Regions from separate parts of the Homo sapiens genome. Here region 1 is linked to region 2. The links are contacts of gene promoters, found by promoter capture Hi-C in blood cells and fetal thymus (Javierre and others, 2016). All regions are on one chromosome and are shown on one strand. The core of a region is centred on a gene start or on the middle of the fragment in contact, and the rest is flanking DNA. Distances in the headings are between cores, read along the strand shown. Region 1 has its middle 39 kb from the start of TCP10L. Region 2 holds the start of EVA1C (eva-1 homolog C).

Region 1 (3,117 bases), core at 190-2,689, 130 kb before region 2:
CAAAGAGCAATGCAGAGCTGTGAGAGGACAGAAGTAGGGAAATGACACCACAACATCTGTGCATTGAGAAGGGCGCTCTGCTGGGGCACGGCAGTGAGTACGATGGGATGGTTTAGGAAATAGGTGGGTTGTACCTCAGACCGGGGTGGTCCAATGAAGACGTAGTTCTGAAGGCATATTTCTGAGCTCTTTAGGAGGGAGAATGGACAGGGCTTGTGATGGCTGGGGTTGGGGAGCAGGTGAGGGGTCTGGGATGACTCTTTGGGTGTCTGGCTCGCACAGCTGGATGAGTGGCAGTGCCACTAGCTGAGAATAAGAACATGGGAAGCCCGCTAGATTTAGGAGAGGACTCAAACTTCATTTAGACCTGTTGAGTGGGAGATACCCCCCAAAAGAAGGTATGGTGTGAATAGTTGCCTATAAAGGTCTGATATTCAAATGAAAGATTGGAGGCATCTGAAAATGGAAGCTGCCAGTGTGGATGAACCATCTTAAAGAGAGGCTACTAAATAAGAATGAAGACTAGGACTGAGATGCCAGGACTCCGGTGTGTGTGGGCCATGGTGCAGAGATGTAGGAGTGCCCAGAGCAGCAGGAAACTTGGAGGGTGGGGCACCTCAGGGTGGGAGAGGCTGCTTCAGAAAGGAGGGCCGGCCGGGGGTGGGGTGGGGGAGGAGGGTGCCATGGAGCCCACCAAGGTGATGATTCACTCAAGGATGGGTGTGGACTCACCCTTGAAAACACTGTAAGGCAGAGATTATTATTATCTTCCTTGAATAGATCAAGGGACTGAAGCTCAAAGAACTTAAATAATTGGCTTCAAATCACACAATAAATAGGTTGTGGAGCAGAATTTGAAGCTGGTTCTCTAGGTCCAGATCCCCTGCGCCAGCCCTGTCTCTCTGTAGCTTTATTTCTTTCACGTTGAAGCATTTTTTTTTTCTAGAAAAGGAACAACATAATGGTATTTTGGTTTGTTAAGTAATCATGATGGGAAAAAGAATGACAACTGACATTTAATGTGAGGCTTATAAAATGATTAAAGGGTTTGAATACTGTATGATAAATAGGCTTTTAAAATCCACGTATCTGACCTCTTATTAGGCTGCTTATTTCTACACTGACAGTGCAGCTCAAACAATTGCTGAAGAACTGCATATATCTTCTGCCTCAATTACTTTCTTTCAGAGACAATTTAGTAACGATGACTTTTCTGAAGTTAGCCAATGTAATTCAAAACCAGATAGGTAAAAGAGAGGCCAGTCATGAAGGATGTGAACGAATATCACGTTGAGGACTAAGAGAATTAAAATGAACTGAGGATTTCTGTTTTTCCTGTCTTTATGATGATCAGAAACTGAGGCAAAAGGATTAAGTATATGTCTGTTGATTTCAAAACACAATGCATGGAAAATTCACCTTCAAATGACATGTGGATTTGGAAAACTCAAACATGGACTGGAGTGGATTGGACTCTAGGGGTTTTAGATATTCTGATGTTTGTGGTAGTACGGATGATGAGAAGTTGATGAGTCTAGGAATATATGAGTCGCTGGCCTGGAAGTAATACAATGATTCAGATTGGGAGTTGGGAAGGTCTACGTCGTTATCCATGGGGGAGGTTGCTAGAAAGGAAACTATTTAAACACTTTAAAGAAACACAACTCTGAAAACACCTAGAACCTGAAGAGTGAGGGGAAACAGACAGGGTCCCCAGTGGGGTGACTTGGCTCTTTTTGAGGGGCCCTATAATGTCCTGGGCTTAACGCTATCTCTGCCCTTCCACCATGCACTGTAATGGTCTGATAACTGGTCTGCTTCATAAGAGCATGAACTTCTTACGGCAAGGACTGTGTCTTACTCACCTTTGTGTCACTTAGTTCAGTGCCTGGATCATAGCAGATGTTTGTTAAATAAATGTTTGTTAGAAGGTTGAGCAAGTAAACAAATGCCAGGAAAGGTGAGAATTTGAAAGAAGGCTAGGGAAAGGGAAGGAAGAAGGCTTTGGTCTCTGTGCTAGGAGAAGGAGAATTTGGGAAAATCGTGTATTTATGTATGCCCAGAAGAGTATTATTCATGGCTTGAGTGTGAATCTAAGACCTGGATACCTTTTCTGACAGAAAGGTATCACATTCTTCAAAATTAAAAGGAGAAGATGCCTGAAGAATTGTTCAGGTGCAAAGAGAAATTCCATCAGGAATCCAGCAAGGCGGGGTTGGGTTCTAAGATGAAGACTTGAGCAACACAAATGTATGAACAACCAACAGGAAGCGGAGCCTGTCCAAAGCCTGATTTACTTAGTGAGGCTCAGCTCATTTGATTTAGGAGGTGATTTTTGTAACAAATTTTTGTCCTGAGGTGGCCAAAAAGTTCTTTAGTGCTTAAAGCTGATGGAGTGTGGGTTAGGAAAATAAAAACAGCCCAGGGGGAATAGATGTCAAGGAGGTGTGGGAAAAAGACCCTTATTCCAAGGGTAAGATCTTTGGAGATGGGCCTCTCCATCCCATTTTCTTGCTTTGGGCCCTGGGAAGGAGGGGGTCTTAGTCCTCAGCATCTCATGAGATTAAAAGTAAATTTAGGCCAGGCATGGTGGCTCATGCCTGTAATCCCAGCACTCCAGGAGGCCAAGGCGGGTGGATCACTTGAGGTCAGGAGTTTGAGACCAGCCAGGCCAACATGGTGAAACTCTGTTTCTACTAAAAATACAAAAATTAGCCAGGCATGGTGGTGGGTGCCTGTAATCCCAACTACTCGGGAGGCTGAGGCAGGAGAATTGCCTAAAAACCCAGGAGACAGCGGTTGCAGTGAGCCGAGGTAGCACCACTGCACCCCAGCCTGGGCGACAGAGAGTCTCCATCTCAAAAAAAAAAAAAAAAAAGTAAATCTGTTCAGTGGTGGAGAAGAAAAGAAGTCAAACCTTGAGGACCAGTTGCTTGATGACCAGTCTCATTTGCTTATTTATAACAATAGCCCTTTCCTGATTGATTCATCGGAGTCAAGGATATGGCTTGAACAGTGCATTCTTGAAGGCGTAATTTCCTTTGTGACCTCACAGAAGACGTGATCCCTGAAGCTGGGCCTCCAACTATCCTGAAGTTCAGAAACAGCTGATGGATC
Region 2 (3,441 bases), core at 471-2,970:
ATTATTTCCTTAGAATTCAGAGCTAGATGGTGGCTGAACTCAGAACTGCTTTCCATAGCTCAAATCAGCTAATACAGAGCTTTTCTAGCAGCCAAGAAAGTTCTAGTAGTACAAAAAAAAAAGTTAATAGCCCTTGAAAAGTCTGATGCATTTCCCCACAACTCTTACCACAGAGTTCTGATCCTGGGATGCTTGATTTTAAGGGCCGTGGGTGGCTTGCCAAATAGGCCTTATCTTGGCTTCCTTTGCTAGGTAGGAATACTGCCTTGATATTACATATTCAAAGCAAAGAACCTCTGACCTAAGGGCTCTCCACTAACAATGACATTCTCTGTAAGTAAACTAGAACCCCATCTCAACTTCTGGTTTGCCCTTGTTCTTTGCTATGTACTAGCCTACTGCACAAACAGGACTGAGGAGGACTCCCTTTACCACCATTATGTTGCAAAAGACTCTGCACTGAGGACCCGATAGGGACCGACTGTGCAAAGCCTGAACTTGGCAGAAGATCCCTGGAGAAGGAGGAGTATGGGGCTCAGAGCTGCTCCCTAAGCTGGGCTGGGGAAGGCTGAAGGCCTCCAGCCTTGCCAGAGGGAGATCCAGGTGTGCTTCAGCGGCAAGGACATGTGTTACCTTAAGCAACTGCAGCGCTAACTTAAGCATGTGCTCCTATGGCTATCGTCAACCTAGAAATCCCTTTCACTTTGGGGCGTCACACCTGTAAGCTCAGAACTATCTGAGATCCGCTGCGAGAGCCTGGATCACGATTCCCAAAAAGAAAAGCCTCCTAGTTTATTCGAGAGTAGGAAGTCATTATTTTCTGTGAAGGAAACTGGAATTGGAGAGGGAGGACCCTGGTACACTTTGGCAGAGAGGCTCCTCTCTCTTATCTAAGTATCTCCTCATCCCTCACTGCCTTTCCACCAGACCTCCAGTCCCCGCGGGCTTCCCTTTCTACCTGCCAATGTGGACTCGAGGTCAAGTGTCCCCTGGGCTAGTCTCCTTACATGGGCAAACGGGCTACGCGGGTGACAAACGCGGCGCAACGCCTCCGACCACAACACGTGTATTTTACAGCGCTGGGCGCGGCACAGGGCTCAGTTTAAGGAGCCTCCATAGAACGAGCGTGGCTCAGGACCAGGTCCCTAATGCTAGGAAATTGACGAGGTCAACAGCAGGGCGAGAAACTCTGAATACATTACACACCCTTCCTTCTTGGGAGTGGCAGTCCCCCGTCGCCACTTCACTCGCAGCCATCTATATGCCAAGGGCTCACACCAGACAAGTGTCTGTGAGCACGCCTCAACTTTAATCCTACCCCGCCGTGTCCACTGGTGCGGCTGCCCCCAGTCGAGGGTTCACCTGGGCGCTCCGCGGTGCCGGGGGCACACAGCCAGGGAGGGCGCTCTTACCAGAGAAGTCGGTGAGCGCTGAGATCTCTTTGGAGCAGACCAGGACAGTGCAGTAGAAGAGGCGCAGGAGCTGCCCCGGCGGCTCTACCTGCCGGCGGAGGCCGGGATGCTGCACGGGCTGGGGCGTCGGCGGTTGGCGTGCGCGTCCCGGCAGAAGCATCGTGCGCTGCGCGGCGGGGCGGAGGCGCAGGCCCGGGACGCGCTGGGGGTCGCAGGGCTAAGGACGGCGTCACATGGCGGGGAGAATCGATGGCCAGCGGCTCCGCGGCCCCCCGCCGCCTCCCTGCCCAGGCTGCCAGAGCCTCCTCCCCTGCGCGGGCCAGCCCAGGCGCCCCAGCAAAGGGGAGGGGGCGGAGAACTGGGGCGGGGCGAGGATCCCCGAAAAGGATCCGCGTAGTTTCCCCGAGAGGAAATCTCCGTTGCCGCCGTGCCGGAGGAAGCGAGGGGGGCCGTAGGGAAAGCGCAGCCTTCGCGCGCCCCGCGGCTGCCCAGGCCGATCCCTGGCGCGCTGCCCACCGCGGAGGGCGCCCCCAGTAGCGCGCCCCGGGCCGCGCACCTTGAGCGCCTTCCACACCCGGGAAACAGCCGGGCACCCGTGGCCCTGCCCGCGCTGGCCGGGTGCCAGCCTCGCCCTGGCGGCAGAAGGAGCGCGGCCGGTGCCCGTGACGCACTTTGGAGCCAGCGCCGCGCGTGCAGCTGGGGCGCCCCCGGGGCGGGGCCGATCGGGGGCCGCAGGAAGGTGGGGTCCTGGAGGCGTGGGATCGCACCGCTGCCATCCCCGCCACCCGCCGCGCGCCACGTGCAGTCACCCGGCACATACAGTTATCGCCATTCCACAGAAGAGGAGACTGAGCCCCGGCGCCGTGCCCAAGCTCTCGCAGCCAGGACGGCGACGAGCTGGAGGTCTCAAAACCGGTCAGATGGCTCCGGAGCCGGGATCTTTAGCTCCAGCTCGGCTTCCTTTGGGTGCTGGTTGTCCGCAGCGCTGGGGGATCTGACACTGCACCGGCGCAAACAGCCGCCGAGCGCTAATAATTGGGCTTTGTTTTAAAGTGGGCCACAGCATCTTTCTGAACCTCTAGACTGTGCGCGGGGTGACCCACGTTCGGACGCCCAGCCAGTGGCCTAGGAGTGGCCTGCGTAGCCCCAACTCAAGGGTATCGAGGACAAGTGCGCGAGGGGCTCCGTGGCTGCTTGCCGGGTGCGGGTACCTGGCGCCCAGCGACCCAAACCCTATGGATCGCGCGGGGCCGGCGGAAGGGAGGAGGGCGGGCGCTAGGCACACAGTGTTCCCGAACCCGGCGGGAGGGCCTGCCAAGTTCGCGGCGGGCGTGACGCGGAAACGTAGATAATGAGGCCCAGGGCGGGGCCGGACGCACTGCCCCGCGGGCTCCAGAGCTGCGAACGCCCCAGAGTGTGCAGGGAGGCCTGCAGAAAGAAAATGCGGCTGAGGGTCCCCGTGGGACCCACTCAGAGGTGGGCCGTAAAGATCCCGGAAGGGTGGATGGCATTAGATACCACCTAGTACTCCAGCAAGGGCTGGGTCACCGAATTGGGATCTCGGCCTCTTCTTCCAGTCTGGGGAAAAGTGTGTTAAATGCTAAACATCAGTGTTTATCGAGTGAGGCCCAGCCTGTCTGGCATAATGATTTTTAAAATCTACATTCAAATATTAAATAAAAACTCAACCTCCCCAATAACATTTGAACATAAATATTAGTGTGCGCTCTCTAGGTTAGGGAAACTGAAGCTGGGAGTGTGGGTAAGGATGCCCAGCACTTAGGAGCCACAGGGTAAGTAATGTTTGTCCAAAACTCGGGTCCCTCCTGTACTTTCCATTCTGTCTGTTCATTCATCCAGTTTAGATATGAATTGGTACCAACGTGTGCCAGGTTCTGCGCTAGTGACTGACAGTGTTGGCACAGGGAGGCAGCCATGCTCCCGAGTCCTGGGAGTGGGCAGCACTGCCCTGTGGGTCTGCACTGGCTTCCAAATGTCTAAGTGGGCACTGTTACTCACTGTGACAGCA

The links. The method cuts DNA at HindIII sites, captures the fragments that hold promoters and counts their contacts. A CHiCAGO score of 5 or more calls a contact.
Region 1: a contact is called between a fragment that was not itself captured here and the fragment with the promoter of EVA1C in region 2, in 3 of 17 cell types (megakaryocytes, endothelial precursors and erythroblasts). The highest score is 8.2, in megakaryocytes.

Annotation. Positions count from the first base shown.
Region 1 is chr21:32,544,794-32,547,910 of GRCh38, reverse strand. No RefSeq gene overlaps it. Among named protein-coding and RNA genes, the nearest start is that of TCP10L, 39 kb to the left of the region's middle. The HindIII fragment of the contact is 4,581 bases long and covers 1-3,117 here.
Region 2 is chr21:32,410,985-32,414,425 of GRCh38, reverse strand. EVA1C (eva-1 homolog C) reads right to left here and starts at 1,720. Exons shown (of 8, transcript NM_058187.5): 1 at 1,413-1,720. The coding sequence starts at 1,572. The HindIII fragment of the contact is 8,620 bases long and covers 1-3,441 here.